Linked DNA regions of Homo sapiens: regions 1, 2, 3, 4, 5 and 6 are each linked to region 7. The links are contacts of gene promoters, found by promoter capture Hi-C in blood cells and fetal thymus (Javierre and others, 2016). All regions are on one chromosome and are shown on one strand. Each heading gives the region's core, a stretch centred on a gene start or on the middle of the fragment in contact. The rest is flanking DNA. Distances are from core to core; before and after follow the strand shown.

Region 1 (3,104 bases), core at 462-2,961, 360 kb after region 7:
GTCAGAATCAGCTATAGCAGATTTTGAATTCTTTAGTTAAAAAATAGTTGCTTTACTTGTTTCCTCATGAGTTTGTTAAATAGCTTTGCATTTTAGTCCTCTATTATGCTATGAAAATTATTACGAAGTTTATATTGTTCCCTTTTTAAGCCTGCCTTACTCTTGTCTTTTGTCATTGTCTATGGTTTAATGAAGAACACACCAAACTAACATTTTTGTTTATTTTGAGGAACAAAAAAACTTTTCTCTTTTAAGGGAAGTTACTACACATTGAGTTAGTAACTACTCTTTCAGTCAAGGTTCCTTAATCAGTCCAGTCTACATCAGGACTATGACTTGGGGGGCGGGGCTAATCCTTTTTGCTGTTCTGAGCTACTATTGTCAACTGCTGTTGTACATACTGTTATGTGTAATGGCGTAAATATATTTATTATGTTTGTAAAATTCATTGCAGATCAAGGTTGCTCTTCTGTGATATATGGGATATTATGTTTTAAAGACCATCTTGGAATACAATTAGAGAACTTAGTATTTTGATGTACTAAGACCTATTTTAAGTTTAATATTCTACTTTGCAAAAACTTTAATTAAAGATGTTATTTAAAAAAAAATGTTGCTTGCTTTGCTTACTAGTATATGGCATTGTTATAGATAATTGAATAAAATACAATTTAGAAAGGAAAATGCTTTACATTGTTAATGAGAATTCCATTTAACAACAACAAAAAGATGCTAAATTCTGTACCTTAAAGATAAGTAGATTGAGATGTCAATTTGAATTAGTAAACTGTGTTACAAATGATTAATACTAGCTTTTAAAAAGTTGTATTTTCCAGGCACACAGGAATTTAGGTTGGGCGAATTCACACTAACAAATTATAACTAAAAATTGGTATAATTAACATTGTTTTTCAAAATAAAGATTACTCCTTGTGAAATATTAATAATTAACATATTGTATTAAATAAGTATTTCTACTCCAAAGTATAGATTACTTAGGATAAAAACATTGTTATTTCTCTGTTTAGTCAAACCACTTCCTCTTAGTTCAGAGGTTATAAATAATTGCATATTAGGAGAATTGGATTACTGAGGTTTGTATTGCGTATTGAATATATTTTGTGTTATTTTAGAAGATAATAATTAGCAGGTATTTTAATTTTATAGTTAATTCAGCTGAATCATTAAGAAGCTCGCCTTTTTGTATTTTTTTATCCTGTTAACAGACTATCTAGAAAACATGCAAATTTTAACTATTAACATAATCATAATAAAGATATCTTATTTATTGCCAGCAAATCTTGTATTTTGCAGTTTAATTCAAGCCCCTACTTTGATTAAGCTTAAGCTTTTGGCTTTTGTTTCTCCAGCTGTAAAATGACAAGATTTTGAGGATGAAATGAGGTGTGATGCATGTAAAGCTCTTAGGCTGGTGCCTGGTACACAGTCAGCACTCAGATGTCACAATTATATGCTTAATTTCATACTTATTTGCATAGTTTAAAATTATTCTTGAACCGGAAAAAATTAATGGTCAAAAATAGCAAAAACAAATTGAGAACCAGTGAAAGAGTTCATTATAACCAAACAATCCTGGGAGGGTAAGTTGGTGAAACAATGCATCTGGCTACAGCAGAAAGTGTCAGAGGGAAGAAAATTGAGTGCTGGGTATGGGAGAGGGATAATCAAACAGTGGGAGGGCCTTTAAGCTCCCTCTCTCCCCCCGCCAAAAAAATCCTAAATTATATGTCTAAATAAGTTGAATTTTCTCAAAGCTAAAACTATGATAGAACTATCATTTTAAAAATGGACTTTTCCAAATATGAATGGAGTCTGTCCAGTTCATTTAAGGAGCAAAACAGAGTTGTCAAACATTGAAGATACGGATACATCACTCTGATTCTCACAATGTCTCCTCCACTTTGAAAAAGAGTACATTGACTTCTCTGTGTTGACAGGACCTCCATGCTAATGATGCATAGGTTAGGGTGGCATTGCTGAGTGGGGCAAATAGGGCCAGGAAAACTAAAGTTCACCCAGGTTAGTTGCAAGAGATGAAGAGAGTAAAGCTTTTTTTGTTTTTAGAGACAAGAGTCTCGCTCTGTTGCCCAGGCTGGAGTGCAGCGGCACCATCTCAGCTCACTGCAAGCTCCGCCTCCCGGGTTCACACCATTCTTCCGGCTCAGCCTCCCAAGTTAACTGGGACTACAGGTTCCCGCCACCACGCCTTCCTAATTTTGTTTTTGTATTTTTAGTAGAGACGGGGTTTCATCATGTTAGGATGGTCTCGATCTCCTGACCTCATGATCCACCCGCGTTGGCCTCCCAAAGTGCTAGGATTACAGGCTTGAGCCACTGCGCCCGGCTGAGAGTAAAGCTCTTTAGAGCTGTTCACTTTCAGCAGGGATGTACAAGGGACATTTGTTGTTTTGGCTTCTCAGTGTCAGAATACCCTTCCTATTTTGCTTCATGCCAAGAAGAATGGAGGGTAATATATACCTCTTTATGGAAGTAGAATAGCAAGTAAGAAGTCACCTGTCACTGGATCCAGAAACAGGGACCAAAATCTGAGGTGGTCAGACTGATGCTTACACTCAGGACTTTGAGTCTTAAGAGCATGAAACAAAGTTGCAGGATCAGTCAGAGGTCCTATATATGTTCAGGTCTGGTGGTGTGATATTGACTGGGGCAAGAGTGCTATTGGCAACCTCCTAAGCAGACTTTGGCTGCAAACTACTGTACCCTTCCAATCCCTTTTCTGCTTAAAATAAGTCTGTTTCTGTTGTTTGCAACCAAGAAAGAAAAGCATTATTCATGCAAAGTGTGTCTTAAGATATCACCTTTCCCTTGTAGGAGTCTTTTGCCTTCCCAATTAGCCCCTTCTTCCCATTAGACATTCAATATCCTATTCAAAAATCTTCAGTGAATTACCAAAATAGCAATACTTGTAATACCAGCATCACAATTGTGGTTGGCTGATTATCTTCGAACATAAAGGAGTTTGTTACATTTAAGCCCATTATATTTTGTGTCATTCATGTATTCCGCAAATACTTGAATACCTACTATGTGTACCATGACAACCCATATTCAAACTCCCTACA
Region 2 (3,364 bases), core at 522-3,021, 270 kb after region 7:
ATCCAGCCTGCTTATAGAAATGCTCCCAGTTCGAGTGGTAACTTTAACTCTTCTAAAAATGAGGATTATATGTTAATTCCAGCATATCTAGACCTTAGTCAGGGAGGTCCAATCTTTTGGCTTCCCTGGGCCACATAGGAAGAAGAATTGTCTTGGGTCACACATAAAATACAGTAACAACAGCTGATGAGCTTTAAAAACATGGCCAAAAAATAGCATTTTCTTTTTTGTTTTTTTTTTTTTTTTTTTTTTTGAGACGGAGTCTCAGTCTGTCACCCAGGCTAGAGTGCAGTGGCACGACATCGGCTCACTGCAACCTCCGCCTCCCGGGTTCAAGTGATTCTCCTGCCTCAACCTCCCGAGTAGCTGGGACTACAGGCATGTGCCACCACGCCTGACTAATTTTTGTATTTTTAGTAGAGATGGGATTTCATTATGTTGGCCAGCTGGTCTTGAACTTCTGAGCTCAGGTGATCCACCCGCCTTAGCCTCCCAGAGTGCTAGGATAACAGGCATGAGCCGCCGCGCCTGGCCAAAATAGCATAATGTTTTAAGAAAGTTTACGAATTTGTCTTGGGCCACATTCAAAACCATCATGGGCCAAGGGTTGGACAAGCTAGCCTTAGGTCATGTCCAGAATGCAATTTAACAGGAATTTCAAGCAAAACTAACAAAAAATTAAATCCACAAAAAAATATCATTTGGTAAATGCACTGTCTCACACACTTTACTACTAAGTCCCATTCAAACCATGACGACCCTTTACATAAAATTAGGGCATTCTCACCAAGTTTCTAAAGATGATTTCTAAACATTACCAAGGTCTAAGTGCTAATTCCCCACAAACCATTTCTTATCTTGTTTAAATGAGACTGGCTTTAGATATCATGACTCATATTTATGTGTTTAAGGAATTAAACGTGAAGGAGATGTATAAGGCAACCACAAATGTAGAAAACAAATGTATGTATTAGTAATATTCTCCCATGTATTAACTAGAACAAGAATGTGAGATTTTTACATTTCTTCTAGTGTGCCTTAGCAAATCTGCTGGAAAGAGTCTAGTTGTTTTGAGAATTGAAAAAAAAATGTGTCTCTCAATTTGTCAATTCTAAGCCTGTAAAGGCAGAAACTATCCACAGTAATGAGTTTGGTAGTGCCTGGAGAGAGGCAAATGATCATTGGATGTAACAAAAGCTACAAGAGAATAGACTAAAAAAAGAATTTCAATATGAAAAAGTAAAATCTAGAGAGATGACAAATCAGCATTGGGTACCAAGCCTCAAAATACTTGAACTAGAAGCCATCTCTTAAAGTTAAAAGTAAGAAGCTCCAGGAAAAATAAAGATTGCATAGTAAAAAGGGATAGATGGCAGGATTAATTCAACTCAACAAATATTTATCAAATGTCTACTCTGGTCAGGTGCTGTGTTAGCAGCCAGCTTCCCTAAAGGGAGGAAAGGCTAGACACGAGGACATTGAGGATTGTTTATTTAAAGTCACTCATAGGCATGCCATAATGGATTTATTAAGGGGAAATTGGGGTTTCTGTGAATCTTTACAGGACATAGCCATGGAGACAATCACTATGTTAAGTAAGTTGCTGTTTTCCCAATTGGGCTTCAGTTTCCTGAGACAAAAAAGTGAGGAAGTTGGATTAATTGTTTCTTCAAGTCCTTTCCAGCTCTAAAGTTGTGGGTTATTTTACAAAATATCCATTGGTGCCACCTTTCAGTGACTCTTCCTATGTTTATAAGAACCAAGAAATTTAAATTTTGAAGATTGGAAAAATCACCTGGTCCATCTTTTTCCTTTTCACATCTCTCTCTTTTTTTTTTTTTTTTTTATCATTTCCCCAGACAACAGAAACAGACAACCTTCCAAATCCTCTATATTGCAGTTGCCTTCCACACACAGATTTAAAAAGAGGATCAAAGAGGGTGGTGAAGATCAGGTGGAATGCTTCTTTGGAAGTTCCACTGGCATCATCTATCAGAACAATGGTGTGAGCATGAAGAGGCACAGACAGGTCTCCAAAATAGATGTTAGGATTTGGGTGCTACCTGACACAGAAGTAGGTCTAACCCTCCAAGTACTGGGGATGATAGGATAATCAATGAGGTATATATATATTTGTCATTTTGTATAAAATATTGTGAAAATTGAAGGAGGACACTCAGTAAACATCCTGGGACTATTTGTAAGTTATGGCAAAACCAGATGAGAGAAAAGGGACAGTCCCCTCTGTATCCTCGTTGTCTCTTAGTAACATCAAATTGTAGTTAAAAAAATTTTAAACTATGTACAAGCTACAAAATAGCATCTCTTTCATGGTATGTTTGAGTGTGTAATTTTAGTTTCTTTTCTGGTTGTATTTGTGGTAGTCAGATGTGTTGGATTGATTCCAACTGGACAGAGTAAGGAATTCCAGCATCCTCTTCCTGCTTGCTCGTGTTACCCCACAGATCAAACCCTCAATTCTAGTTGGGGATGCTGTCTAGCCCCACACCATGACTGAAGCCTTAAGCACTGTTGCGCCTCCATGTGCTTTGGATCAGCAACCCCAGTGGTATTCTACCAGAGCATTGTGGGAAAGCAGATGTATAGTCAGGTCCCAACAGCAAATTGTTGGGTGTGAGAGTTCTAAAGTATAGGGGTGAGGGAAGAGAAGGATATGAACTCCTCTGACCTTAAGCCAGCATTCATTTAACTTTTATGTCTACTTAACAAGAGAACCTGGAGAAAACTACCGTATTCAAGAGATTAATCAAAATCAGTGTTTTAGCCAGGCGATGACAGAGAAGCACCATTCCTCACCCTCCATTCTTGTAATGTCTGTAATAAATTTCAGTGCGTCAGGATGGATGAACCCAAGATCCAGTGAATGATTCAGCTGTTCCAAGCCTTACATTTTCCATCATTCATCATCCATTCTCATTCAGTGTAACCTCTTGCACTATTGTGGTTAATTTTATGTAAAACCAGTTTATGTTTTTTTTTTTTTAATATGTGCCTATGTAATAAAGTCTACACACTGGCTATCTCTGTAGAGGTGAGGTTTTGTTTTTAGTTGTTCTACTGATTATATCCTTTTCTGAGCTATGAAAATGAATTATTAATAAAAAATTTTTGAACAAAATATCACTATGCCAAATTTAATGAAGTCAGACATATGAAGAGTAATGCTTATTAATATAAGGCCAGTCACCCAGCTTGTATGGTTAGTGATCATAAGCTGACAAATTAACAAATGACCTGTTTAATTATCCTAGTTAAATTTGTCATAGATATAATTTAGTCAATTCAAGATAGGTTGGCTGGACCCAGTGGCTCATGCCTGTAATCCCAGCACTTTGGGAGGCTG
Region 3 (3,138 bases), core at 50-2,549, 320 kb after region 7:
GTTCTATCTCCCACTTTGTAGTTTTTAAAAAATATTTTATACTTTTTGAAAGTTCTTTCACATCTATTCTCATTTTACTCATTTTACCATTCAACCTTCTAGAAGCCAGCTTCTTTACTTCCCGCTCCTCCAAGTAGTATCAACGGTGCTAATTGTAATAATAATAGTAAACATTTAGAGGGTTCATGTTCATTATAATGTTTCATAGCATTACCTGGGCAGTAGTAGAGGAGAAATCCTGGGAAGGAAATCAGTATACCTTGTTCCTTGGGACCTTAAGACCTGCCATTGTGAGTGTATGAGTAGTTTAATGGTACAGCTTGAAAGTACAGACTGGGTCACACAACAGAAGTTAGGTGATTTTTAAACCTGAATGTTCATTAGGTTGCAGATTATTACCAGGCAGATGACTCCCGGACATAAGATTCTCCAAAGTCTAAGATACAGTGGTGAGGTAGTAAGACATACAACAGAGTTCAAACCAAGCATGGAATAGTAGAAGCCAGACATAAGCAACCCGTAAAGCTATTATTGAACATTACATTAGGTATTTTGACTACAACATAGGAAATTATAATTGGAAATTGTATGGACCTTGTAGTCTTAGGGGCCTTCTGTTTATGAACTGCATTAATCTTAAAATTTTTATTAAAGTGTGCAGTCATCAAATCCAGTTTATGGCAAATGATGGTGGTCGTATCTTTAAAGTCATATATAGATAGTTGGCAAAATGACTATTCGTTTTGAATTTGTGAAAACCTGTTATACATTATAAGCTGTGAAAAACTGTCTTTTTCAAGTCTTTTATTTTTCCTTTAAAGCCTAAATTATACAGATCTGTGATTGAAGATGTCATTAATGATGTGAGAGACATCTTTCTGGATGATGGAGTGGATGAACAAGTACTGATGGAACTAAAAACTGTGAGTTTGTCTTTTTTTTAAAATATTCCTACTTTTCCCCCACAAAACATTTTCTTTAGCCGGAGATGAATCTGTAATTTTTCTATAGGATGAACGTATAGTTGAGTGAAGTGTGCTGGTTTTAAATCCCAACTCTGCCATGCATTCTTCCTCTGACCTTAGGCAAGCTACATTTATATTTCAGTTTTCTTATACGTAAGATGGAAATTGGTAGTACTTACCTTATAGGTTTGTTTTGAGGATTAAATGGAATAACCATATAAAATCTTAGCACAATGCTTGATAGTAGCATTAGCAGTTATTATTGGATAGTTAACATTCTACATTTTATGGTCTAATTACTTGACATGTCTGGAAGAATTTTGTTGCTTTCTTTTTTCGTTTTTTATTTTTGAGACAGGGTCGGGCTCTGTCGCCCAGGCTGGAGTGCAGTGGCACAATCTGGACTTACTGCAACCTCTGCCTCCCAGACTCAAACCATCCTCCCACCCCTGGGACTACAGGCACATGCCAGCATGCCTGGCTAATTTTTGTATTTTTGGTAGAGATGGTTTTCACCATGTTGTCAAGGCTGCTTTCGAACTCCTGGCTGCAAGTGATCCTCCCGCCTCGGCCTCCCAAAGTGATAGGATTATGGGTGTGAGCCACAGCGCCCAGCCTTAATCTTATCTTTTTTTAATGGTCTTAATGTACCTGTATTCTAAAGTGTGTTTTAAGTTGTAGGGATTAAGTGCTTGATAAAAGAATTTTAGGTTCTTGAAGTAGACCCTTTATGTAGGCCGAATGTTTTGAATATATTTTACATTGAGAGCTGGTTTTCTGTATCTTGGATTCAAGTGGAAATATTTAGATTTTTTTTATTAGCAGTTGTGTTTTCCTTGCATTGTAATGACTCATGAAATTGTGGAATATTTTTGCCCTGTTGATTAGAATAGTGGTTCTCAAGGTATAGTTCATGGAGCCCTGGATTCTCCCCAAGGGTTCTTTCAGGGGGTCCACAAGGTTGACTAAATGCTTAAGTCTGGAAAATCATAGTTTGCCCGTCATTCTTTCAAGTAAAAGTTGTATTCTGTGAGAAAAGTGACCAGTTAAATTCACAATTCAAGTGCACAGGTGCTTTTCCTTGAGATAACTGTAAATAAGCAGCAGAAATGCTTTATGTATACTTCTCATTTCTGACAAACTGAATATTAAAAAGATGAGGACTCAATGTTGATATTAAGAAATTTGATTGTTTGATATTCCGTAATGAAGTGTGTTTACAGTTGAAAGATCCATATAATTCACTGAACTTGTATTTTCTGAATATCCAATGCATAATGTTGGAAAATTCATTCAAAATGCAAGATAAATTAATGGACTTTAAAAGTATGAAAAGTTCACAGTTATATGGTTTCATATTCTGCATTGTAACTAACTATTAAGAAACTGTCACTTAAAAGTACCTTTTCTTTTCCCAACTACTTAATTGTAGGAAGGCAGATTTTCTTTGTACACCTCCACCAAAACAAAGCAAAAACAGGGTCAGATACGAGAATCTAGCTATTTTCCTTTAAGTCATTTGTCATTCTCACTCAATTTTATTTACTAAAATATGGCTATTTTCAGAAAAATGTTATTTATGTTAACATATAATGGATCCATTATTTCTAAACAAATTAGTGAAAATTAAAAATTTGTTATAATTTCTATTAGTATAAATATAGGTGGATGTAATTCACATACAGAAAAGCTCTTTGAGGGTCTCAGTAATTTTTTTTTTTTTTTGAGACGGAGTTTCGCTCTGTCACCCAGGCTGGAGTGCAGTGGTGCTATCTTGGCTCACTGCAAGCTTTGCCTCCCTGGTTCATGCCATTCTCCTGCCTCAGCCTCCCAAGTAGCTGGGACTACAGGCGCCCGCCACGACGCCTGGCTAATTTTTTTGTATTTTTAGTAGAGATGGGGTTTCACCGTGTTAGCCAGGATGGTCTCGATCTCCTGACCTTGTGATCCCCCCACCTCGGCCTCCCAAAGTGCTGGGATTACAGACATGAGCCACCGCTCCCGGCCGGGTCTCAGTAATTTGATAAATCGTCCTGAGATGAAAGAGTTTTAGAACTGCTGGTTTAGAAGTTGATTATTAGGCTCCTTTAAATCTATGTACAAATAAATAATCACAGTTAATAAATGTTAAGGAACATTTGTTGTGGTCTCATCCATTCAGCATAGGTGTCGA
Region 4 (3,190 bases), core at 139-2,638, 330 kb after region 7:
TTAAGGTTCATAAAATTACGGAATTGTTTAAGAATACCAAAAGAATGGTGCTTTGTGAGAGTTATTCCATTCCCTACTATTTCCGAAAAAGTTTTAGGGTACCTACCAAGCTTATAATGCCAAGTATGGTTCTGTTTCAGGAGACCTAGTAATTGCAAGAGGGTGGGAAGGCTAAGAATTGTGAACTTTTAAAAAATGAAGATAGACTGGATAGTTCAGTATAACTATTTTTAAAATCAAGCATTTAAAAATATTACTCTGACTTAACCATAGTATAGTCTAATAAGTCATTATAGTGTGTAAATTACCACAGAATACATTTTAACCAGCTGAGTTATATTAGAATTTTTATATTTCTGAGGACTATCCACTAAACTTTACAAGTCCTCACTCATATTTTCAAATTACATTTCAGACATATAATATTTCTCAACAAATGTAGTATAGGTTAACTGTAAACTTGAAAGAACCTCTTCAGATCCTTAGAAAATCTTTACCTATATCCTTGAAGTTGTTTTTTGTTTTTTTTTTTTTTTTGGATAAAACATTAAAATATAGTCAGATTAGAGTAGTTCAATACTTCCTTATAAATGGTTTTTCTTTATTCTGTTTAAAATATACAGACTGTTGATTTCATTGAGTGGTGACTCAGCTCTTACATTTCATTCTTCAGCCAAAACTTTTATTTAAAGGTGAAAGAATCAATATTTGTAAAAAGATCTTTTAACCTATGTAACTAGTTAGTACTAGAAATGAGATTTTTTTTTCCCTCCGTTCAAGTTTTTTTTTTTTTTTGAAGATGGAGTCTTACCCTGTCACCCAGGCTGGAGTGCAGTGGTGTGATCTTGGCTAACTGCAACCTCCGCCTCCTAGGTTCAAGTGATCCTCCCACCTCAGCCTCCTGAGTAGCTGGGAGTACAGGTGTATGTCACCACACCTGGCTAATTTTTTTGTACTTTTAGTAGAGACAGGGTTTCACCATGTTGGCCAGGCTGGTCGCCCAACTCCTCACCTCAAGCGATCTGCCCACCTCGGCCTCCTGAAGTGTTAGGATTACAGGTGTGAGCCACCACGCCCAGCCTCAAGTTTTTTTTTAAACCAAAAAGCAGTGTATGAAAAGATGAGTTCTACTTTGTGAGTGATACTGAATCACAAAGTTCATTTGTGGTTTATAAGCCAGATAAGAAGGGCTTACCCACTAGACAGATGACTTCCTCCTACACATTACCAGCCTCACAAATTCATACTGTGGCAGAATTGAAAGTTTCTACATGATAGTAGAAATTGCAGTTTTTAAATTCACAAATATCGAGGATCTCTGTTTGTACTTGTAGTTGCAGTTTCTAGAATCTTTTCGTTTACATGAAAATAAAAAATTTCATGCCTGTTATTTCTCACAAGATTTTTTATTGGAAAAAACTCCATTTTAAGTCTAAGGCCCCAATTTTTTTTAACCTCCACCCTTAAAAAAAAAAAAGTCTCACTATATGTTGCTTATTGTAGTTGATGTTATTAAGACTATATCCTAGGGAATAACTCACATTATTTTAAAACAAATTTTGGCAGAGTCTCTTGTGGTAGGCCCCTCTAAAAGAATTTTAAATGTTGTGGAAGAGAATTTTGAATTAGTAAGTTATTTCTGGGATAAAAATTAGTGGTCCATCTCTTACTTACTGGTTAAGTCTCCTTTATTCTAAAGAGCATATGTATTTAAACAAATCATAGGTCAGTTACTCAGGAAAATTGATTTAACATTTCTGTATATTTTACATTTTACTTTGTTGTTTTTAGTCAGTGTTTCCTTCATGTATTTCTGAACATAATCAGTATAGGCTCTGTACCAATAAAAGTGTTTTAGGTTTTTGTGGGTTTGCATTATTCTGATTTAGAAATAGCAAAAATATATTTGTTCTTTCTAATGGCTCTGTTTGCATTAGAAATGAACTAATCATAAAAACGTGAGATAATATAGTAGAAGGCTATTTCAGGGAACTTCTAGAAAACCATTGTTTTCGGTTCTTTTTTATGAAATGATTGGTCTAATGCATTATTTGTGTTTGGGCTGTTTTGTGGAATACAAGAAGAAATTTTAATAGTTATTAAGTATAAGGTGGTTAGTGTATGGTACATGACTCAGCAAATATATGTTATGCAGCTTGAATTTGTGGAGGGTGTGCAGGTAGTTATTGGGTCGTGTATTCTATATGGAAACTACTATGTCAGTTTGCTGGTAGAGGGAGAATTGCTGTCTTTCAAAATATGAATTATAGGCACTTAATATTTCTAAATATTTTTGTTTTTTTCTTTTTAAATATTTCTTAATAGTATGTGGTGGTTAATATTTTCCTTAAACTTAGATAACCTTTAATTTGCTTATATAGCCAAGTTTTATTTTAAATTGGGTAATTGAGTATCCAACTTAAATACGAATCACCCGGGTGGGCTATAGTTAAATTCTGGAGACACAGTGGGAATTTCAGGCCCAAGATGTAGAAATTACTTAGGTTTGTCAAGTGGCAACAAGTGTATTTTCTTGGAAAGCTATGTACCTAGAGCCCAGACTAGACAGTAGTTGAACTATTAACTCAGTTTAATAATTTTCTAAGTTTGTTGACTTCTCTGACACTAGCATTTCCAAAGCAGTTATATTTATTTTTTTAAGCTTTTTCAGATATGGGTAGTTCTAAAACTGTATAGGTTAGATTGAATGTATGAATGGTTGGTAGCTAAAGAAGATTGAAAAGAGAGGGAAAAAACTACCAAAATGTGTAGCTATAGCGGGATACAGGAAAATACTTAAAGTGCAGAATAAAAAACCAGAGAATGGCATAATTCTTTGCGGGAGGACAGGAGGAGAAAACTCTCCAGAACTCTCCAGGAAGTCAAGAATTTGTCCTGGATTTAAAGAAATTCATAATATAATCCCGTCTATATCTTTATAACTTAAGTGTCACATACTAACTTGATTTCAAAATGTTGAAACTAAAGTTTGTGACTATTGCCCAGGCTGGAGTGCAGTGGCACAATCTCGGCTCACTGCAACCTCCACCTTCAGGTTCAAGCCATCCTCCCACCTCACCCTCCCAAGTAGCTGGGACTACAGGTGTGCACCACCCTGCTCAGCTAATTTTTGTATTTTTTGTAGAAATGGGATTTCACCATATTGCCCAGGCTGGTCTCAAACTCCTGA
Region 5 (3,423 bases), core at 63-2,562, 380 kb after region 7:
TATTGCTGCAAAAGACCTGCTTTTATTCTTTTTTAGGGCAGCATAGTATTCCATGATGCATGTATACCATATTTTCTTTCTCCAATCATTTGTTGATGGACAGTTAGGGTGATTCCATGCCTTTGCTATTGTGAACAGTGCTGTGATAAACACAGAGTGCAGGCATCTTTTTGATAGAATGATTTCTATTCCTTTGAGTAGGTACTCAGTGGGATTGGTGGGTCAAATGGTAGTTCTACTTTTAGTTCTTTGAGACATCTCCATACTTTTTCTGTATTCCCACCAACAATGTATAAGCGTTTGTTTTTCTCCACATCCTTGGCAACATCAGCTGTTTTTTGATTTTTTAATTAATAGCCATTATGACTGGTGTGAGATGGTATCTCATTGTGGCTTTAATTTGCATTTCTCTGATGATTAGTGATGTTGAACATTTTTCATGTTTGTTGGTTGCTTGTATGTCTGAAGAAATGTCTGTTCATTGTTTATGTCCTTTGCCCACTTTTCTTTTCTTTTCTTTTTTTTTTTTTTGAGACAGCGTCTTCCTTTGTTGCCCAGGTTGGAGTGCAGTGGTGTGATCTTGGCTCACTGCAATCTCCACCTCCTAGGTTCTAAGAGATTCTCCTGCCTCAGCCTCCGGAGCAGCTGGGATTACAGATGTGCACCATCACGCCCGGCTAATTTTGTATTTTTAGTAGAGACGGGGTTTCACCATATTGGCGAGGCTGGTCTTGAACTCCCGACCTCAGGTGATCCACCTGCCTCGGTCTCCCAAAGTGCTGGGATTACAGGCGTGAGCCACCGTCTCTGGCCATCCTTTGCCCACTTTTAAATGGAGTTATTTGTTTTTTTCTTGTTGAACTGAGCCAAACAAAAGCTCAGTTCAGGCAGGCCATGGTTGCTTATGCTGGTAATTCCAGCACTTTGAGAGGCTGCTGCGGACGGATCGCTTGAGTCGAGGAGTTCTGAGACCAGCCTGGGCAACATGGCGAAACCCCATTCTACAAAAAAGTACAAAAAATTAGCTGGGCATGATGGTGCTCTCCTGTAGTCCCAGCTACTCAGGAGGTTGAGGTGGGAGGATTGCTTAAACTTGGGAGGTGGAGGTTGCGGTGGGTGACAGAATGAGTCCTTGTCTCAAAAAAAAAAAAAACAAAAACAAAAAACAAAAAGAAAAAAAAATGAAAAAGCTTAATTTAACAGTTTTTCTTGCATGTGAATGACCTCTGAGCTTTTAAATGGAAAGTTGACACTGAGTTTTGGTGAATGGCAGGGGTTTTTGGTTTGTAATACAAGTGCTTTTTTTCTTATTAAGTTTTTCCTTGTAGGTTCTGGGTATCAGTCCTTTGTTGGATGCATAGTTTGCAAATATTTTCTCCCTTTCTGTAGACTGTTTACTCTGTTGATTATTTCTTTTGTTGTGCAGAAGCTTTTTAGTTTAATTAAGTTTCATTTTTCTGTTTTTGTTACGTCTTAGTCATGAATTCTTTGCGTAGGCCAATATCTAGAAGAGTTTTTCTTAGGTGTTCTTCTAGGATTTTTATGGTTTCAGGTTTTATGTTTAAGTCTTTAATCCTTCTTGAGTTAATTTTTTTTTATAGGGTGAGAGATAGGGGCCAAGTTTCATTCTTCCACATGTGGTTATCCAATTTTTCCTGCACCATTTATTGAAAAGAGAGTCCTCTGCCCAGTGTAACTTCTTGTTAGCATTATTGAAGATAAGTTGGATTGTTGGTATGTGGCTTCATTTCTGGATTCTCTATTTTGTTCCATTGATCTATGTGTCTATGTATGTACCAGTACTATGCTGTTTTGGTTATAATAGCCTTGCAGTGTAATTTGAAGTCAGGTAGTGTGATGCCTCCAGCTTTGTTCTTTTTGCTTAGGATAGATTTCTATGGAGTAACACTGCTCTGTAGTAACATTCAGAAACTGTAATAATTTTTATACTGTGGTGACACATATATCTTCCTCTCTAGATTCAAAGTTTTTTTAAAGTCTGGGACACAGTTAAAAAAATTCTGATGTATATGCTCTGCTTGCAGAAGGTACTCAATAAATGAATACAAGTCAAACAAATGCTCAATTCAAACACTTTCTTGCATGTAGATGACTAGTTCTCTGGGCTTTTAAATGGGAAGTTGAGACTGAGTTTTACTGAATTGCAGGAGTTTTTAGCTTGTAACCACAAGTGCTTCCTTACTGTAAGATAGATGACTCAATGAATAGGCTTCTTACAGAGAAAATGATGGACAGTGGACTCTTTTTTAATGATCGGTAAGAATTTATATAAGGCCATGTCTAATTTTTAACTACAGAGGATGACTATATCATAAAACAGAAAATTGTCAAATGTTCATGCTCTACCAGGGGTAAGCTATTATATTTGAGAGGACACATTTTTTTTAAAATTTCAATAGTTTTTGGGGAACAGGTAGTGTTTGGTTGCATGGAAAAGTTGTTTAGTGGTGATTTCATGGGAAAGTTGTTTAGTGATGATTTCTGAGATCTTTGTGTACCCGTCACTCAAGCAGTGTACACTGTACCTGGTGTGTACTCTTTAATCCCTCACCCACCTCCCAACCCTTCCCCCTGAGTCCCCAAAGTTCATTATATCATTATTATGCCTTTCATCCTCATAGCTTAGCTCCCACTTATAAGTGAGAACATATGATGTTTGGTTTGGGGGAGGATACATTTTTAAGGGCTCAGCATCAATTAAACATTTCATAGACATGAAAAATAATATATCAGAAATTCAATTCAAATCCAGCACGTATTTATTGAGCACATACTATGTGCCAGGGATTGTTCTAGGCTCTTGGGATGCACCAGTGAATATAACTGACAAAAATGTCTGCCTTTGTGGAGCTTATGTCCCATTATGTTTATTATAACATGATAAATAAACTAGTATATTAGGAAGTGGTAAGTACAGTAGAAAAAAAGAGGAAAATAGAGCAGGGTGAGAGGACCAGGAATACAGCATGGAACAAGTAACACATTTAAGTTAGGGTGGTCAGGACAGGCCTCACTAAAAGGTGCCATTTGAATAAAGCCCTGATGGGTGTGAGGGATTTCTCCATACAGCTATCCAGGAGAAAAGCATTCCAGACAGTGATGAGCCAATGTCATGGGTCTGGTTGGGGAGTTCATAGGTATGACCAAAGAAGAGCAGGAAGGCAGAGCAGCAAGAAGAAGTCAGCAGGGAGAAGACGTGTAGGAGATTAAAAAAAAAAAAGAGAGGCAATTTGGACCAGATCATACGGGTCTTGTTTAAAGACTTTGGCTCTTTTTTTTGAGACAGAGTCTTGCTTTGTCACTCAGGCTGGAGTGCAGTCGCATGATCTCGGCTCACTGCAACCTTCACCTCCCGTGTTCAAGAGATTCCCCTGCCTCAGCCTCCTGAGTAGCTGGGACTAC
Region 6 (3,326 bases), core at 179-2,678, 300 kb after region 7:
CACAGGGGGTGGTGCATGGGCATAGCGGGCTGCAGGTCCCGAGCCCTGCCCCATCAGGAGGTGGCTGAGGCCCGGTGAGAATTCAAGGGCGGCACGGGCTGGCCGGCAGTGCTGGGGAAACCGGCGCACCCTCCACAGCTGCTGGCCCAGGTGCTAAGCCCCTCACTGCCCGGTGCCCCCAGCCGGCTGCTCTGAGTGTGGGGCCTGCTGAGCCCGTGCCCGGCCAGAACTGGCACTGGCCCATGAGCACCATGCGCAGCCCCGGTTCCCGCCTGCGCCTCTCCCTTCACATCTCCCTGCAAGCAGAGGGAGCCGGCTCCAGCCTCGGCTAGTCCAGAGAGGGGCCCCCACAGCGCAGTGGCGGGCTGAAGGGCTCCTCGAGCATGGCCAGAGTGGACGCTGAGGCCGAGGAGGCACGGAGAGCGAGGGCTGCTAGCACGTTGTCACCTCTCAATTTATCTAATATCTCACTTCAAAATTTTATTTCATTACAACTTCCAATTCACTGAGTCTATTATTTTTTCATTATCTATTGCCCTTTCAAAGACACACATCTCATTGAACCCCTTAGATTCAATGGACTATCATCATAGTCACTCACTGAGATCAGGGCAAGTGGTCTCCTCTTTATGAAGATGACTCAGGAGTTGCACACATCACATTTCGCACCCTATTGGATCAGCTGGGAAGTGGGGCCTTTGGGGAGTTATTTAGATAATGAGGGCTCTGCCCTTATAAATGGATAAATGCCTTTATAAAAGACTTGAAGGGGGAAAGTTCACTCTTTTCCAACCCTTTCATTCCTTCCATCATGTGAAGACATGGCATTCTTCCCTTCCAGAAGACGCTATCTTGGAAGCTGAGTCCAGGTTCTCACCAGACACTGAACCTATCAGCTCCTTAATCTTGGACTCCCAGCCCTCAGTACTGTGAAAAGTAAGTTTCTGTTCTTTATAAGTCACCCAGTCTCAGGTATCTTGTTGTAGCAGCACAAATGAAATAAGACAACTGGCTAAAACTCAGGGCATTCTATTATTAAAAGAAAAGAGGATGTGACTATTTGGGGACAGTTAGTGATGTCTGCACATTACTTAAGCCTAAACGCCCACCTAGTCTGTGCTTTCCCACAAGTAACTAACAGATCAAAGTATGCAGCCATGATGATTCTCACTCCAAATCTCAAGTGAGCAATCAATTCTACATAACAAACTTATACCCGTATTTAATACATTTGATCTTCTGCTCTCAAGAAATGGCTATTTTGGGTGTTCTCCTCTTTTCTCAAACTTCTCACAATCCCTTAGTATCTTTTACACCTCACTCTCAGCTGGTAACTTTCTCTTGTATTCTATAGAAAAAGTGAAAGCAATCCCAGGGAGTTACTTTTCTTTCCCCACTAAATCTACTAGCTCATTCTAACATTCTTTTCTCTCATTTCAATTCTGACTTTCTTTGCCCACATTTTTTTCTCCTTTTACAGTACACAAAAGCAAAAGATGTTCCTAGCAAAGATGAACACCTCTAAAGCCTATCTTCAGCCTTTCTCAAGGACAGATGTCTGTAATAAGCACTTTCTCTTGTACTATTATGTTTTGATTTTCTGTTGGATTTTTCCAACAGTTAGGAAATAGTCTCTAATAAATACCACCTTCAAAAAATTATTAGAAGAGAGGACTCTGGGAAGATAGCAGAGTAGAGAGCACCTGAAATCTGTCTCCCCAACTTGACAACAATTGCACTGAGGGAATCTGTCTTACCTATTTTGAAACTCTAGTGTCTGTTGAAGGCTTGCAGCTTCCAGGGAAGGCTTGGATGGTAAATTGCAGTTAATTCTGGTCAATTTTAGCTTAGCACAGTAGCAGCTACCCATCCCCCACCCCCCAGCCCTTTGGCAAGCAGCCATGCACACATTCCAGGAGCAGCTTTCATATAGCTTGCAGATGCCAGGGTGAGTAAAAAGGACCCTTTCCTCCAAATATCAGGGATCTGGACTTTAATCACTGATTGCTGTTTCTGATTCACAAAGGTGCAGACAGAGGCAGGTAGCCATTGTTGACCTCTCCCAACTGTTGTATGCCCCTCCCCCTCCAGCTGAAGCAACTTCCAGGGGATTAAAAGGGCTGGCACCCCCTACTCCATTTATTTTTCTTTTTTTCCCCCTTTTCAGAGCCATATATTAATGACTAGGATGTTCAAAAGTAACAGGAGTTCGAGATCAGCCTGACCAACATGATGATGGAGTGCTGCTGTGTACACTAAACTTTATGGCTTGGCAGGTCAAATAATGCCCAGTTCATGAAGGGCAGCTCAGGTCACACAGTAATTGGTAGCCCATGGTCAAGCACTCAGGTTCTACTAAGGCCCAGTAACAGGCCAAGAGCTGTCTCTCAAAAGAAGAATAGTTATCTGCAGAAAATGGCAGGGTCCTGATCTAAAATCCTAAAGGGCTGCACTGCAGTTCACCTACAGGAGCCTTCCAAAGACTCCATCAGCATTCCTGTCTGCCACTGAGACTTCAGGCAATACTGGATCGGCTGGATCATATGGCCCCAGTGGCAAAGCAGCTTGCACAGCAGTATGGATCTCTTGCAGAGCCTTTTCCTGTTCTGGGCCCTACTCAAAACTAGCAGCTTTTTGGGTCACTTGGTAAATGGGCTAGAGTAACAAATCCAAATAAGGAATAGGTTGCACCTAAAATCTAAATAGGCCCACTAGAGGTTACAATTCTTTCTTGGCTGTAGGGGGGGCCAAAGGCAACAACTTATCCTTCACTTTGGAAGGGCTATCTCAGTATGCCTCACACAACTGAACCCCTAGAAATTTAATTGAGATAGAAGGCCTCTGAATTTTAGTCAGGTTTATCTCCCATTCTTGGACACACAACTGTTTTACAAGTCTAAGAGTAGTTGCCACTTCTCACTCACTAGGTCCAATCAGTATAATGTTGTTAAATCAAGTTTAGCCTAAACCTTCTTCCTTACATATTTTAACTTCAGCCTAAAGGTGTCTGTGTACATCATGAACTATAACCTAAATGGAGTTGTATATAGACCGTAGCCTACTCTTATATCAGTCAGCAAGTTTTGGCCAATCAAATATGGCCAACTGTTCAAACTGTGTTCAAATACGGGTAACACTGAGCTGTAACCAATTCATCTGTTTCTGTACCTCACTTTGATTTTCTGTGCACCACTTTCCTTTGTCCATAAACCTTCTGCTACAGGGGTGCACTAGGGTCTGAGCCTACTCTGGCTCATGGCACTGCCCAATTCACGAATCATTCTTTACTCAATTAAACTCTTTTAAATTTAATTTGGCTAAAGTTT
Region 7 (3,467 bases), core at 478-2,977:
TTTCTTCCCTGGTACTTCCCCAACAGAGTAGAACTGTCAGCACAGTTCCTATTTTGTGAGTAGAATAAGTTCTAATTTTTTTTATTCTGTGAAAAGTGTAGCCATTGAAAATTTTCAATAGGCATATGAAAGCAGTGTTTAAGGAAAATTAATATGGCCATGATATGTGATTCAGGTTAAAGGGAGAATGATGTCAGTGAGTATGGCTGGAACTCAGGTGCATCATCCAGGTGAGAGAAAATGAAAGCCATTAGGGGAGTTTTCAGTGAGGAAGAGAACAGAGGTACATAATAAAATAAAACAATTTAAAAGTTACATAGTTTAAACTGATAGAACTTGATTATCAATAAGATGAAAAAGAAAGGAAAATATACCAGATTTTACTCTATGATTTATAATCAGAGGAACTCAGAGGGAACATTGTTAGTGACAGAAATGGTGATGTAGCTGAAAAGACAAGTTTTTGGAGGAGATAATTCTTTCCTTCATCTCCTCCGATGTGAATGAGAAACAGTGGTTGGTTTTTTACCATCTTCCTGAAAATAAAAGGCTGTATCTCAAAAAACAAAAAACAAAAAACAAAAAAAAAAAGGAAGGAAGACAAATGCCCAGAAGTGTTAAGACACATGGCCAGCAGAGACTTTTCCAAAGTCCTTCACTTGGCTGGACTAGGTTCTAGGCCTTAGAGCTGACTGTGGGTGGATGACAGGGAAAGCAGAATGACACGGTTTGAGAAAAGAAAGGGCAGGCACACCAAGTCACTGCTCTGCTACTCAGTTGGAACATGCCTGGATTTCGTGCTTATTACATAGAGTATTTCCGTGCCTGCGATGCAATCACTATCACCTCTACCTCCACACACGTGAACCTGGTCTCCTGACTTTAGTTAGGAAAGAAGAGAACAATGCAACTCACAAGAGGAGAAGGATGAGGACAAGTGTTTAAAATAATTTTTCAAAGCTGTTGGCACATTTTCTTTATGATTATTGTCTGGTGAACCTAGTGAAAATAAATACTGTATTGAGATAATCTGTGCCGAGCGGATTTATTTCCTTTTGTTTTGTCGGAGAAAGGAGGACAGGTACTGAGTTGCACCCTGGTTTCCGTACTTCACGGTACTGTTTTATCTAAGTTTTAAAAAACACCTCAAATTCAACTAGCTGTGGCATTTTTCTCAGTGCTCTTATCACTATGCCCAATTTAAATTTTTTAAATAAAACAGGAAAAGATGCTAAACACATTACAAGTTCTTAAAATTATTCCTTAATATTTATTTTGGGTCAATTTAAAAAGGCTTGTGAATCCATAGCCTTGAGTTAATATTTAGCCCAGGTGTTAGTTAAATTCTAACTTCAACAGTCACCCGCACTTGTAAATCTTGCCCTACGATGGACTACGTTTCCCAAGAGCACCCCCCGAGTTAATCACATGAAGCGCATTCTGGGAATTGTAGTCTCGGATGAGCCTCTTTCTCCCAGTCTTGGACTCACGCGCTGATTCCGGTTGAACCCAGGGGCTACCAATTAGCTGGGGCCATGTCCGTGAGTCGTGGTCCAACCGAGAAAGCTGGTGTGGGAGCTTCGTACAATGATTGGCCAATGAATGACCCCCGGGGCGGAGCAATGGGGGTGGGCGGGGAGACCATGGTGATTGGACCAGAAGCCCGCGACGGCGGGCGGGGATTGGCTGCGCGCTGGGTCAGGGAAGCCTGGGAAGGGGCGGAGGAAGGAGACTAGAGCAGGAAGAGCAGCGGCGAGGCGGCGGTGGTGGCTGAGTCCGTGGTGGCAGAGGCGAAGGCGACAGCTCTAGGGGTTGGCACCGGCCCCGAGAGGAGGATGCGGGTCCGGATAGGGCTGACGCTGCTGCTGTGTGCGGTGCTGCTGAGCTTGGCCTCGGCGTCCTCGGGTCAGTATCCGCCCCCTCGGGCTGAAGGCCCAGAGCCTCCGCCCCCCAGCCTCTACAGCCGGCGGGGCCGTGGGGACTCCAGGCTCGGGACCCCGTTCTCCCTGGGCACATCTCGCACTGGGCTGTCACTCGCTCTTTGGCTTTGCTTGGCCTGCGCCAAAGGGGCTATTTAGGAAGGTGGAGTGGGGTGGAAAAAGAAGGGGCGGTCACCCTGCCCACACCTCTCTCCCACGTAACAAACTTTGCGCGACTCTTCTCACGAACGCGGAATTGACTCCAAAGGAATGAATCCTGATACAGGAGCCCGAGTGGAGCTTCCTCGACCCTGGGGTAGAGGAAGGGTCTGGTCTAGAACTCTGGGCTTGGGAATTGTAAGTTAAATAATTGACAAACCTGGAGCTGTCACTTTGGGGCAGAGGAGGATCCATCCAGACCAGGATGTTGACAGTAGTTTGCTTAACACCTGAGATGGTCCCTGGTCTGTCTGTTTAAAAACGAAGACTTTTGATCTCATCGTAGCCACTTTTTACTTTTTTGAAACCTTCCTGAGAAAGCGGTGACCTGTCACAGTGTTTCTGAGTTGCCCCATGTTTGTTGACAGTCATTTTATGATGTTTGGGAAAATCTTGGTTCTTATAAGATGCGTTTTATATAGATACAGAAATTTGTGTGCTTTTGAATTGATTTTCCAGTTAGCTAATGTTTATTCTGGTTCTGCTTTTTTCCCCCTTTTTTAATGTTTTAATCTGCCTACATTTGAAAATTTCCATTTTGAGAGTGTTCATGAAAACTTCGTGTTTCTAAGTGTTGATAAATAAAAATTAGTACAGTAAAACTTTGGAATTTTAATCAGTTTCAGTTAACAGGACAGGTGTTCTGTGGCTTGACGTTTTGGGGGGACAACACGGAGTATAAATGTCAGCTTTTTCTTTTTTTAATAAATGTCAGCTTTTTTTTAACAGAAAATTTCCCAGATGGTTATCTGAATCCCCAAATTACCTGTCCTAGTTGTAAATCAATGCCATAACGTCATTCTGCTTCTAAAATAAGAGGCTTAAACCTAAATTCTATCCATGATGTGGTTTGAGATACCATTTCAAAAGCACCAACCCTATGCTAATTACTTTACTGCCAACATCATTCTTTCAGGTCCACTCCCCTCCCTCCAGTAGTAGTGATGGTTTGAGTTAATGACCAGATCTTTAGACTATACTTAACTCTCGAAGCACTTTTAGCAGTTATTTAATATTTGATCAAAAAGCATGAAATGAAGCTGTTGAGCTTAATGAGTAGAGTACCTGCTGGACCATGGACCTCCTGCATCAGAATTCCTCTTATGGGTTTGTTAAACATTGGGTTTTAGGTCTGGAACAGCTCAGGTATACATAGATTAACAATCTCCATGAGGGATTCTTCACACTAAAGAGAACTACAGTAATGAAAGAGCACGGTGTGTATCCCTCTGAATTTAATTGGCAGAGTTTAAAGAAAATTAAAGCATAGGAATTGTGCTGTCTGTCTTTGACTGCATTTTATATACTTAGAGCTCCATGCCAGTGGAA

Evidence for each region. Contacts are between HindIII fragments. The CHiCAGO score rates a contact against its expected background, and 5 or more counts as called.
Region 1: a fragment that was not itself captured here is called in contact with the fragment with the promoter of SEL1L in region 7 in 6 of 17 cell types (total CD8 T cells, total CD4 T cells, non-activated CD4 T cells and 3 more); the score reaches 7.1 in total CD8 T cells.
Region 2: a fragment that was not itself captured here is called in contact with the fragment with the promoter of SEL1L in region 7 in 3 of 17 cell types (naive CD8 T cells, neutrophils and naive CD4 T cells); the score reaches 6.2 in naive CD8 T cells.
Region 3: a contact is called between a fragment that was not itself captured here and the fragment with the promoter of SEL1L in region 7, in 12 of 17 cell types (non-activated CD4 T cells, total CD8 T cells, total CD4 T cells and 9 more). The highest score is 13.2, in non-activated CD4 T cells.
Region 4: a contact is called between a fragment that was not itself captured here and the fragment with the promoter of SEL1L in region 7, in 10 of 17 cell types (naive CD4 T cells, non-activated CD4 T cells, total CD4 T cells and 7 more). The highest score is 8.6, in naive CD4 T cells.
Region 5: a fragment that was not itself captured here is called in contact with the fragment with the promoter of SEL1L in region 7 in 5 of 17 cell types (activated CD4 T cells, total CD8 T cells, monocytes and 2 more); the score reaches 6.9 in activated CD4 T cells.
Region 6: a contact is called between a fragment that was not itself captured here and the fragment with the promoter of SEL1L in region 7, in 4 of 17 cell types (naive CD4 T cells, naive CD8 T cells, non-activated CD4 T cells and 1 more). The highest score is 7.1, in naive CD4 T cells.

The regions. Positions count from the first base shown.
Region 1 is chr14:81,173,647-81,176,750 of GRCh38, reverse strand. GTF2A1 (general transcription factor IIA subunit 1) reads left to right here. Exons shown (of 9, transcript NM_015859.4): 9 at 1-1,299. Among named protein-coding and RNA genes, the nearest start is that of TSHR-AS1, 4.8 kb to the right of the region's middle. The HindIII fragment of the contact is 721 bases long and covers 1,351-2,071 here.
Region 2 is chr14:81,260,427-81,263,790 of GRCh38, reverse strand. STON2 (stonin 2) reads left to right here. Exons shown (of 8, transcript NM_001394390.1): 8 at 1-3,139. Among named protein-coding and RNA genes, the nearest start is that of GTF2A1-AS1, 41 kb to the right of the region's middle. The HindIII fragment of the contact is 4,982 bases long and covers 1-3,364 here.
Region 3 is chr14:81,214,198-81,217,335 of GRCh38, reverse strand. GTF2A1 (general transcription factor IIA subunit 1) reads left to right here. Exons shown (of 9, transcript NM_015859.4): 2 at 822-923. Among named protein-coding and RNA genes, the nearest start is that of GTF2A1, 5.2 kb to the left of the region's middle. The HindIII fragment of the contact is 2,914 bases long and covers 1-2,756 here.
Region 4 is chr14:81,198,233-81,201,422 of GRCh38, reverse strand. The region is part of intron 4 of GTF2A1 (general transcription factor IIA subunit 1); the gene reads left to right. Among named protein-coding and RNA genes, the nearest start is that of SNORA79, 3.0 kb to the left of the region's middle. The HindIII fragment of the contact is 2,552 bases long and covers 113-2,664 here.
Region 5 is chr14:81,156,385-81,159,807 of GRCh38, reverse strand. All of the region lies in intron 2 of TSHR-AS1 (TSHR antisense RNA 1), which reads left to right. Among named protein-coding and RNA genes, the nearest start is that of TSHR-AS1, 12 kb to the left of the region's middle. The HindIII fragment of the contact is 239 bases long and covers 1,193-1,431 here.
Region 6 is chr14:81,233,056-81,236,381 of GRCh38, reverse strand. No RefSeq gene overlaps it. Among named protein-coding and RNA genes, the nearest start is that of GTF2A1-AS1, 14 kb to the right of the region's middle. RefSeq lists an enhancer at 850-1,009. The HindIII fragment of the contact is 4,433 bases long and covers 1-3,326 here.
Region 7 is chr14:81,532,113-81,535,579 of GRCh38, reverse strand. It overlaps SEL1L (SEL1L adaptor subunit of SYVN1 ubiquitin ligase), which reads left to right and starts at 1,727. Exons shown (of 21, transcript NM_005065.6): 1 at 1,727-1,905. The coding sequence starts at 1,836. RefSeq lists a silencer at 1,604-1,723 and an enhancer at 1,440-1,939. The HindIII fragment of the contact is 11,079 bases long and covers 1-3,467 here.